Regions from separate parts of the Homo sapiens genome. Here all the other regions are linked to region 2. The links are contacts of gene promoters, found by promoter capture Hi-C in blood cells and fetal thymus (Javierre and others, 2016). All regions are on one chromosome and are shown on one strand. Each heading gives the region's core, a stretch centred on a gene start or on the middle of the fragment in contact. The rest is flanking DNA. Distances are from core to core; before and after follow the strand shown. Region 1 overlaps LEMD3 (LEM domain containing 3). Region 2 holds the start of TBC1D15 (TBC1 domain family member 15). Region 3 holds the start of TMBIM4 (transmembrane BAX inhibitor motif containing 4).

Region 1 (3,399 bases), core at 662-3,161, 6.7 Mb before region 2:
GGCCGCGGGGATGGGGGTCCGGCCGGTCTCGGGCGACCTCTCCTACTTACGGACTCCTGGGGGCCTGTGCCGAATCTCGGCCTCTGGCCCAGAGAGCCTCCTGGGAGGGCCCGGGGGCGCCTCCGCCGCCCCCGCGGCTGGCAGCAAAGTGCTGCTGGGCTTCAGCTCGGACGAGTCGGACGTGGAGGCCAGTCCCCGGGACCAGGCCGGCGGCGGCGGGAGGAAAGACCGGGCTTCGCTCCAGTACCGCGGGCTCAAAGCGCCGCCGGCGCCCCTGGCCGCCAGCGAGGTGACTAACAGCAACTCTGCAGAGCGAAGGAAGCCCCACTCGTGGTGGGGGGCCAGGAGGCCGGCGGGCCCCGAGCTGCAGACCCCGCCGGGGAAAGATGGAGCAGTGGAGGACGAGGAAGGGGAGGGAGAGGACGGTGAGGAGAGGGACCCGGAGACCGAGGAGCCGCTCTGGGCGAGCCGGACCGTGAATGGCAGCCGGCTTGTCCCCTACAGCTGCCGGGAAAACTATTCGGACTCAGAGGAAGAGGACGACGACGACGTGGCCTCCAGCAGACAGGTATTAAAGGACGACTCCCTTTCCCGGCATCGGCCCAGACGAACCCATAGTAAGCCTCTCCCCCCGCTGACTGCTAAATCGGCCGGCGGCAGGCTGGAGACTTCAGTTCAGGGAGGGGGAGGACTCGCGATGAATGACAGGGCGGCGGCTGCCGGGAGTCTAGACAGGAGCCGAAACCTCGAAGAGGCGGCGGCCGCGGAGCAGGGAGGAGGGTGTGATCAAGTGGACTCCAGCCCCGTTCCTAGATACCGTGTTAACGCTAAGAAACTGACCCCTCTCCTGCCCCCGCCACTTACTGACATGGACTCAACCTTGGATTCGTCAACAGGCTCCCTTCTGAAAACCAATAATCATATTGGCGGTGGGGCCTTCAGTGTGGACTCCCCCAGGATTTATTCTAACAGTCTCCCTCCCAGTGCGGCGGTGGCCGCCTCTAGTTCACTCAGGATCAATCACGCCAATCATACGGGCTCCAATCATACCTACCTGAAAAACACATACAACAAACCGAAGCTTTCCGAACCCGAAGAGGAACTTCTCCAGCAATTTAAACGGGAGGAGGTGTCCCCAACAGGGAGTTTCAGTGCCCACTACTTGTCGATGTTTCTCTTAACTGCTGCCTGCTTATTTTTCCTAATACTGGGACTGACTTACCTAGGAATGAGAGGGACAGGAGTATCTGAGGATGGAGAACTCAGCAGTAAGTATTAAATCCTGTGGGTAAGGTAACAAAGAGAATGTTGTTAGTGGTCCGCTTTAGCCGCGCTTAGCGTTTTACATGAAGTGACTTACCTGCAAGAATATGGTTTAACAGCAAAAACGCAACAGTGCGTGCATGTGTCATCTTTCTTAAAGAACACCATTATCGAAATGATGTCATATGGCTGGTTTTAAAAGTTTTCTGCATGATGTATTGTGAAATTCAAAACAATTTTTAAAAGAATATTATAAGCTTGTTAGTAAAACTCATTTGTATATGTGACAATTCTCTTTTAGCCCTGAAAGACTATTTGCGCAGATGCCAGTTACTTAACAAATTTGAAGTATTAGGATAAGGCACATTATAAATGTAGTGTTTTTCCAAATTGAGTTGTGATTCTAATAGGCAATGTAATAGCTCTTGAAATTCGAATTATTTTATAATATTAACTGTATGCATAAATTCGGATTAAATATTTTGTGGTATTAACTGTATGTATAATTTCTTTATAGTGAATGAATATAAAAAAGCAGCAAGGCACACCTCTTAATTTATTTCCCAGCCCAAAGCACTTTCCCTATCATCTGTACAAAAAGTAGTGGTAGGGCAGTGCAGGAGCTTGCAGTCAGATTTCCTTGGATTGGTTTCCAGGTCCTACTATTTACTTGCTAAATGACTGTAGGCAGGTGTGTTCATTGTCATAATCAAAGTATCTCTGCCCTTAAACACAAAAAGAAGATGAATACAGACCATTTTGTGTTCTCTGAAGGAAATAAAGATGAGTAATTGGCGTACACAACTTTATTTTTTTTCCTTTTTTAAAAAAATTTACCAGACTACACTGACGTAGGTGTACACTACTTTAGATTGAACGGAGGAGGTACTATTTGAGGTGAGACCTGAAGCAGAAGGAGACAGCCTTGTGGAGAAACAGTAGACCATTCTGAGCAGAGATTAAGGCCTTGAGTTGAGCAAGAGCCTTCTTGTAGGTTAGAGTGGTTAAGCACCTTGAGCAAAGGGGAGAGAGTCAGAGTTAAAGCTTCTGAACTTTCCTAATCTATAAGATGAGGCCTCTATTGACTAGAATGTTTGTGAAGATTAAAAGAGAAAGTAAATTAGGACAAAATGGACTTCTGAATACATAATTTCTCAGTGTTAGGTCCCTCTCTGCATTCTCCCTGAAGGCTTCCTACTCTTTTCACCCAAGATGAATTCACTGTATTTTTATTTGTATTTATAAAATTGGCTTATTAGTTTTATTTCAAAATAGAGTGAAAGATGCAGTTAGCCAACTCAGATAAAGAGTAGGAGTCAAAATAATGTAAGCTTAGATTTAGATATAGCCAATTCCGAGACAGTCAAATAATAGATTTTTACTCTGTTGCTTAATTACAGGGGTTGAAACAAGAATGAAATTCAGCTCTCACTTTAGTTTATTCCCTGGGAGCATGAGTGTATTGTGTCCTGCCCCAAATATTTGGGAGAAAAAAAATAAGGGCACACTAGAAGTTAAACAAGTAAAAGTTCACATAAATTAAATGACATTACCTATCAGCAGTAGCTATCTGCATCTGTGTCTCTAACAACTATAAGATCTGGCCTTTTTCTTTTCTTTTTTTTTTTTTTTAGACAGAGTCTAGCTCTGTCGCTAGGCTGGAGTGCAGTGGCACAATCTCTGGTCACTGCAACCTCCGCCTCCTGGGTTCAAGTGATTCTCCTGCCTCAGCCTCCCAAGTAGCTGGGACTACATGCGCGTGCCGCCACACCTGGCTAAATTTTTTTTGTATTTTTAGTAGAGACAGGGTTTCACCATGTTAGCAGATCTGGCCATTTTCTAAGAGCTAATTGCTTTACACCTATTGTACCATCTAATCTTCCCAGCAACTCACAGAAGCAGGTGGTGGTATCCTCATTTTTGGATGAGGATGATACTAAGTTAAGAAATGCACTGAGTGTTGAACAGTTAGTAGTAGGGCTAAGATTTGGTTTCAGATTTTATTTCCAACTAGAAAGACCATTTTAACACTGTTTTGGTTATTGTTTGTAGAGAGCTTTCTAAATAAGTGGGTACCTTTATTATGATTAAGAAAGTAATTGACTATTTGGTAGGATTTCATACAGAATTATTGAT
Region 2 (3,529 bases), core at 636-3,135:
AGATGCCAATGATGCTTTTCAATGAGAAGCCTGTAGTTCTCAAACTTATATTTTAAAATATAAGTAATAACTACATTTATTGAGCCTTTTATTCCTGGCACTGTGCTAAGGGCTTCAAATTTTCTCTAAAACACAGGGTGTAAGAAATGTGATGTCACATTAAAATTTTTCTCTAACCACATCCCAATGCTCTGAGCTGGTGGAAAATGTAATTTGGGTCATCAGTAGGATTTTCCACTCCACACCCAAGATTATATGAAGGTTCTAGGGGTCTTAGTCTCAGTCCAGTACATTTGGAAAAGGCCCTCTAGTCTTCACTCAATGCTGATTACTGCTAATATTCTCATTTTCCCACCTCATTCATCCCTTGTAGGTGAGCTGCTTTCTTGATTCCCTGCCAAGCTTGGGCATAAGGGTCTTGGTCATGGTTGGAATCTCAGATACCTAGCACGCAATCTCCCTAATATGCTACGCATTCATTCCCACCTAAGGTTCCACCACTTTCCTCACCTATTAGGTTCCTGGTAGTCACATAACCGGCAACTCTCCTTTTCTGTCGTTCAGCTAGTTGCCACCTACCTCAACCAAACTCAAAAGCCTCTAACCCCTCTCCACTGTGTGAAGACGGAAGTACCTCAATGGACACAAGTGTTTTTGGTGAAAGGGACTTTTTATTCTGCCCCGGAGCTAGGGAAATCCCAGATCTGTGCCAGAGTTATCAAGGGGGTAGTATATAATCATTCTCTGCATTCTTTTACAGCACTGAGAACAAGTAAAATTCTTACCTTAGTATCTTTACAAATCATTTTACCACACATGTATTGTCGTATGAAATCCCTACAACCACTCCATGCAGGAGTAATTCCCAGTTTACATCCTGAAGCTCTGATAAATTTAGAAACCTGCTTTAAGTCACAGAGCTAATAAGTAATGTGTAGGTGCTATAAACTATGTGCCTTGGGCTCTGCAGCTATGAGGGCGTGGTATTATCACAGTTCCTATCGAAATACCTTGCTGGAGGTCATGTGTGAGTGGCAGTGACCAGACAAATAGAGAAACCTCATATACAGAGGGGAAAAGTCTCCATGTATAGTGCCTGGGATATCTCCATGTTAGTGCTGCTCTTTCTTGGATCTTCACCGCAACGCCACTATCTTGATTTTACTATAAGAAACTGAGGTTTCGAGTGCACTGGTGATTTGCCTACTGCCACAAAACCAGGCTAATGGGCTGGGCGCGGTGGCTCAAGCCTGTAATCCCAGCTCTCTGGGCAAAGGCTGAAGCGGACGGATCACCTGAAGTCAGGAGTTCGAGACCAGCCTGGGCAACATTGGCGAAATCTCGTCTCTAATAAAAATTTAAAAATTAGCTGGGCGTTTGACGCGCGCCTGTAATCCCAGCTACCCGGGAGGCTGAGGCTTGAGAATCGCTTGAACCGAGTGGCGGAGGCTGCAATGAGCCGAGATCGCGCCACTGCACTCCAGCCTGAGCGACAGAGCGAGACTCCTTTTCTACAACAACAACAAAAAACCAGGACAAATCTTGCTGGCTTCCAGTATGGTATTCGTTTCATCTCACCAAACTGGCGTGGCCTGCGCTAGCTTCAGAGTCTCGACAAACTCCAATACAAGTAAGGTACACATTATTTTAGCAGTCTTCCTTGGGGAGGACGTGGGGCAAGCACAAGCGTAGCGTTAGGCCTGAGACTCCACCCCAGCCGTCTCTGAGCCCAGTTCAGCACGCACGCGTCAGGCGGCTTTTTTCCGCCCGGCTCCTTTCCTCCACTCCCTTCCCGCCACTCCCCGCCCTTTTCCCGCCCGGATGTTATTCTAGTTTTGCCGGATGTTGTTGTATGTCCGAGAGACACGTGAGGTTCTGCTACGTCATTACCAGGCACGCGCAGGAAACATGGCGGCGGCGGGTGTTGTGAGCGGGAAGGTAGGTAACGGCCTCCAGGAAGACCTCGGCTTTTCTCTGGGACGGGGATGCTTTTGCTCCCTGGCAGCTGGTTGGGGGAGGGACACGAGGGACTTTCTGTGTCCGGACAACCCGTGGCGTCTGTAGGAGAAGACTGGGTGGTACCAGCTGGTTTCCCGAGAATGCCAGTTCAGCCGCGGAGTTATAGAGCCGGCTACTGCTCCAAGGCCAGCTAGGCCTCGGCGCTCTTCTGCCCCAGAGCAGAGAGGCTTTTATTCGTATTACCTTTACTAAGGGACAGGTGGCTCTCTAGTTCCTTTTTTCCCCCGATTCACTGTTTCTTGACTCTAGTTCTTTATGTCTACTCTTCTGACTCCAGCGTCTTTTCTCTCTTTGAAGCGTTAACCCGACTTGCCTCTGTCTTCTTTGCTACAGTTTGGTGAAGATGTTTATGCTTCCTTCGGGAGGAGCTGAATAGATGCTAGGCAGCTAGCTGTGCGCTTAGAAGAAACGAGTGTATTGGGTCTGTTTTTACCAAGCTGCTGAGTTGGTTGGTGGTTGTGAGCAGCAGGACGTGTTTCCTGAGAGAAATGGAGATTTACACCATCCTGTGCTTGTCTAGGAAGGCGTCCAAATATTTATTTCCTAGGCATTTCAGTAGGAGTATTGGTCATGCTGGTTTACGGAGGTGGTCAGTGACACGCCTAATTTCGTTGGAAACTAGAATTACGTGCGGAGATTTCGTCGAATAGTGCCTATTCGCGTTCCGAGGGCACATCTTATGCATAGTTAGGGCTATCAGCTTTATGATATGCCACCGATAGTATTTCCCAGTGCAGGAGTATTTCATAAACAGCTGGAATCAACTGAAGTGACTCATCGAACACTAATGGTTGTTTACTCATTGCAGATAGCGTCCTCTGTTCCTTGAGTTTCACTCATGTCTCCCTGTTGCTTTCCCTACCCCATTTTGAATTATTTGACAGCGTTTGTGGTTTGGTGTTTGGAGTATTAGACTAGGCGGCTGAATGACAAATATGGGCTTGGTTTTGCTGTTAATCTGAAGTATGACCTTGGAAAATTGGGCAATTGTGACTTTTGTCTTTTCGCGTTCTTTATCTGTAGAATGGAGGAGATGCCAATCATTATTTCTTGTATTGGAGTTGTTAGGGTTATATAAATTTTTTTTTAAAAAAACATAAAATTACACACTTGTACCTACTGGCTCTTTTAAAGGATAGGTGGGCATCCTTTTTTGGATTATTCGTGCTCCTTGGTTGTCTTGTCAGTTTTTTTCTTTTTATATTCAGGGTGGATGCTGATATACTGCTTGACTTACTGCGTATTTGAAGATTATCCTGTTTGATTTTCCATCTAAACTGATCCAGGCTGGGACTTTTCAAGAGGGGATCCCTTCCGTTTAAACATCTCCCTCTTTCAGGTTTGGATTGATTTTGAAAGAATCCTTGAGGCAATGAAGCAGAGTTGTGAAATGAAAAACATTTTTCACTCTTTGCAGCCACTACCTTTCATAGTCTGACTTCTTAAAGTGAGACTTATATTTAGTAATTCTGCTTCATAACCTCATTTATTCTCATTCACTGCAAATTCA
Region 3 (3,975 bases), core at 376-2,875, 5.7 Mb before region 2:
TTCCAGGGACTGGGGGAAGGAAGGAATGGGGAGTTAATAGGTATAGAGTTTCAGTTTTGCAAGATTAAAAAGTTCTGGATATTGGATGGTATATAAGTTTAGTCTAAAGCTATGCCTTTAGATATTTTAAGTTCAGCCTAGGGGTTCTCGGTATATAGTGAACTATAACCTAGTAAACAGGCTGTAACCTACGCTTGAACCAATCACTGAGTTTCAGCCAAAGATGGCCACGTGTTCAAACCATGTTCAAACGGGCAAAAACCAAGCTGTAACCAATCAACTCTTTCTGTACCTCACTTCTATTTTCTGTACCTCACTTTACTTTCTCTCTCCATAAATTTTCTCCCACCAAGCGGCAGGACTCATCACTCTGAACCTTATTCTGGTTCCGGGACCTGCCCAATTCGCAAATCATTCTGTGCTCAAACTCCGTTAGATTTAATGTGTCTAAAGTTTTTCTTTTAACAGTGCACAACCATGTGAATAACTTAACACTACTGAACTATACACTTAAAAATAGTTAAGACGGTAAATTTTATGTTACCTGTATTTTACCACAATTAATTTTTTTTAAAAAAAAGCTGAGTTCACTGGCCAAAATAATTTCAAAATTCAATTCCAAAAATATAAATGCTAGGCACCAAGATTCTTGGTGCATCAGAACTATCTTCATCTTTCCTTTTCCAGAACAAGTTCTAGGCACTAAGATTCTTAGCACATCAGAACTATCTTCATCTTTCCTTTTCCAGAACAAGTTCCAGCTGCCTAAACAGGCTGAAAGTCTGGGGCTGTTTCGGCGATCAAATGACCAAACTAGAGCAGGCAATGGCTTCCACGTAGATGAAGCTGAGCATTTTAAATTCAAAAATTTCTGCCCATTGGCTACTACGTAATAACTTAAAACACAATTTAGACTGACTTAGGAAGCTTCTGTGTTGAGCAACTTCCTCAATAATCCTCAAAGACCTGTTGCATTCTGGGCCCTGCGGAGAGGAAATAGTGCCGTCAGGGAGCTTCCAGCCTAGCACAGGACGGTAAATATAAGCCTGTAACGCGAAACCCCACAGAACAAAAACATCAGGCCGTGGATTCCACTCGTGTGTACGTCAGTCACAGTGATCAACCGACTCATTTCCACGACGTTTCTTTTCACTTCAAGATGCCAAATTCAGGCTGCGGCGGTTTCCATCTGTCCCTTCCTACACCGCGGCGCCCGCTGGGGAGCCGGGGCGCACACAGGACAGCCGCAAGCCTTCTGGGCCTGGCGCCCTCCCACACCCGCTAGGAGGGGAGGAAGCGCCTCCCCGACTCCCTGAGGAGGGCGCCAGTCCTCTGGTACCCGGAGAAGGAGGGCCGGGAGCTCAGTGAGCACTCCCTGTGAGTCCCAGGAGATGGCCGCTCTCCCTCGGAAGCCGGAAGTCGGCTTCTAGAGGCCGAGCAGTGCAGACAAGCGGCTGGGAGGCACTGGAGAGGGGACAACGTACCCATTCGGATGTGCACGGTGGCGGAGGCCACGCTGCTGCCATAGTTGAAGTCGTCCTCGATCGAGGAGCGAGGGTACCGGGGGTCGGGGTCAGCCATGATGGCAACAGCACCCCTACCGGTCCCGGTCCACTAACCGCAACCGCCTCCTCCCCACTTCCGCGAGGAAGAGCCCAGCCCCAGCAAGCCGTGCGGCGTCGGCGGGCGAACACCGAGCGAGTCGATTTTCTCGCTTCAAAAATTCCAGCTGGGCGGAGAAAGCGGGGATGGCTCCGAGTTAGAATGGAAGAGAAAACGGTTTACATTCCCGGCGTCATCTGAAGTGAAACTTTTCTCAACACACTTTTTTTTTTTTTTTTGAGATGGAGTTTCACTCTTGTTGCCCAGGCTGGAGTGCAATGGCACGATCTCGGCTCACCGCAACCTCCGCCTCCCGGGTTCAAGCGGTTCTCCTGCCTCAGCCTCCCGAATAGCTGAGATTACAGGCGCCTGCCACCACGCCAGGCTAATTTTTTTATATTTTTAGCAGAGACGAGGTTTCACCATGTTAGCCAGGATGGTCTCGATCTGCTGACCTCGTGATCCGCCCGCCTCGGCCTCCCAAAGTGCTGAGATTACAGGCGTGAGCCACCGCGCCCAGCCTGAACACACTTTAAGTCCTTTCACCTTGGAGAGTTGCTAAAGTGATAGAACCCATGTCCCAGTCACCCATCCACTCAACAAATACCCATCTCATTCATCCACTTTTTCAATAATCACACCGAGGATGCATTTTTACTTCTATTATTTTAAAATAATAATAATACCTACATTTATTGAGCACTTTCTATAAACCAGGCTTTCTGAATGAAGTAATATTTAATCCTGAAAGGCAAGTAGGAGCCAACCAGAGAAAGAGCAGTGATGTAGGCTGGGCCTCAAGGGACCAACGTCTGCAAAGAGGGAGACGGTGAAGCTCAGCTGGTGTAGGGGACAGGTGGCAAAGAATGAGGCTGGATAGATAAACAAAGGCCAGATCATCCTAGGCCAGAAGTAGAATACATTGAAGAGGGCCATTACCAAAGGCAGAGAAAAGGGGATAAAGTTGTATTACTGTAAGAGAGAGATGATGGTGGCAAATACAATGGATTAGAGTGAATATTCATGATATTGTTGTCATTCCAATATAAAGAGGTGTAGACATACCCAGAGTAGTGTCATCCTAGGGTCCCTTGGAATTGTTTTGATGAGTTTACTCTGATCTACCCACATTGCCCAGTCCTCACCTTAACCACAACACCCGAACACTTAGCAAGTGGAATTCAGAACAGTTGTGGAACAGTCTATTCTAAACTAAATCCTTAAACTTGATGTTCTCAGAAGCCTTTGCCAAAAGAACTAACGTCACTTCCACAATGACAAGAAAAACAAAACAAAACAAAAAAACACTTTATCTTTTATGATTTTACAAACATTTTACAAGCATATCATTTTAATTTGTTTTTGTTGGTTTGTTTTGAGATAGAGTCTCAGTCTGTCACCCAGGCTGGAGTGCGGTGGCTCTATCTCGGCTCACAGCAGCCTTGACCTCCTGAGGTCAGGTGACCACCCCCGGGTAATTTTTTGTATTTTTTGTAGTGACGGAATTTCGCCATGTTGCCCATGCTGGTCTCGAACTTGGGCTCAAGTGATCCCCCTACCTCGACCTCCCAAAGTGCTGAGATCACAGGCGTTAGCCACTGTGTCCGGCCCCTCGTTTTAGTTTAGTTTGTTGAATGGATAGGTGAATGGGATATGGCCTCTATCTCTTTAGTCACTCTCCAGGTGAGAGGACTTAAAAAGCTTGCTGAGAAAAATCTGAGAAAAGTTTTACTTCAGATGACACTGGGAATGTAATCCGTTTTCTCTCCCATCCTAACCCGAAGCCATCCCCTCTTTCTCTGCCCCGCCGTAATAATGGAATTTATTATAGAGGACAAACTGGAGCTAAATTGGGAACCCACCTTTGTATTGACTAAAAACAGCATCAGCAAAGTTTGATCCTTTACCTCTTACCAGTTACAAAAAAAAATAAATTCCAGATAGATTGTGGATATAAATGTGAAAGGCAAAAACAATAAAACTTAAAGAAAATGATACAGGAGAATATGATTTGGAGGAAGGCAAAGATTTCTGAAACCAGATACAAAATAGCACTTAACTTCAAATGAAAAGATTGCCAAATTAAATTATATTAAAATTAGGAATTTCTAGTAATCAAAATATACCATAAGAGAGTGAAAAGGAAGCCATAGAGTAGGGGAAGATATCTGCTATACATATAACCTACCTAAGGCTCCTTTTCAGAATATAAAAACAATTGTTACAAATCCAGACCAAAAAAAGACAGTCAATAGAAAAATAGACAAAAGACTGGAGGCGGGCGCAGTGGCTCATGCCTGTAATCCCAGCACTTTGGGAAGCTGAGGCGGGTGGATCACCTGAGGTCAGGAGTTCGAGACCAGCCTCAACGTG

The links. The method cuts DNA at HindIII sites, captures the fragments that hold promoters and counts their contacts. A CHiCAGO score of 5 or more calls a contact.
Region 1: a fragment that was not itself captured here is called in contact with the fragment with the promoter of TBC1D15 in region 2 in 2 of 17 cell types (naive CD8 T cells and total CD4 T cells); the score reaches 7.0 in naive CD8 T cells.
Region 3: a contact is called between the fragment with the promoter of TMBIM4 here and the fragment with the promoter of TBC1D15 in region 2, in 3 of 17 cell types (total CD4 T cells, naive CD8 T cells and naive CD4 T cells). The highest score is 11.8, in total CD4 T cells.

What each region holds. Positions count from the first base shown.
Region 1 is chr12:65,169,851-65,173,249 of GRCh38, forward strand. LEMD3 (LEM domain containing 3) reads left to right here. Exons shown (of 13, transcript NM_014319.5): 1 at 1-1,268. Among named protein-coding and RNA genes, the nearest start is that of LEMD3, 2.0 kb to the left of the region's middle. RefSeq lists enhancers at 1-68, 811-890 and silencers at 21-230, 614-817. The HindIII fragment of the contact is 787 bases long and covers 1,519-2,305 here.
Region 2 is chr12:71,837,874-71,841,402 of GRCh38, forward strand. It overlaps TBC1D15 (TBC1 domain family member 15), which reads left to right and starts at 1,886. Exons shown (of 17, transcript NM_001146213.3): 1 at 1,886-1,938. The coding sequence starts at 1,909. The HindIII fragment of the contact is 6,842 bases long and covers 401-3,529 here.
Region 3 is chr12:66,168,371-66,172,345 of GRCh38, forward strand. It overlaps TMBIM4 (transmembrane BAX inhibitor motif containing 4), which reads right to left and starts at 1,626. Exons shown (of 7, transcript NM_016056.4): 1 at 1,485-1,626. The coding sequence starts at 1,581. RefSeq lists enhancers at 778-877, 1,360-1,884, 1,528-1,607. The HindIII fragment of the contact is 2,376 bases long and covers 926-3,301 here.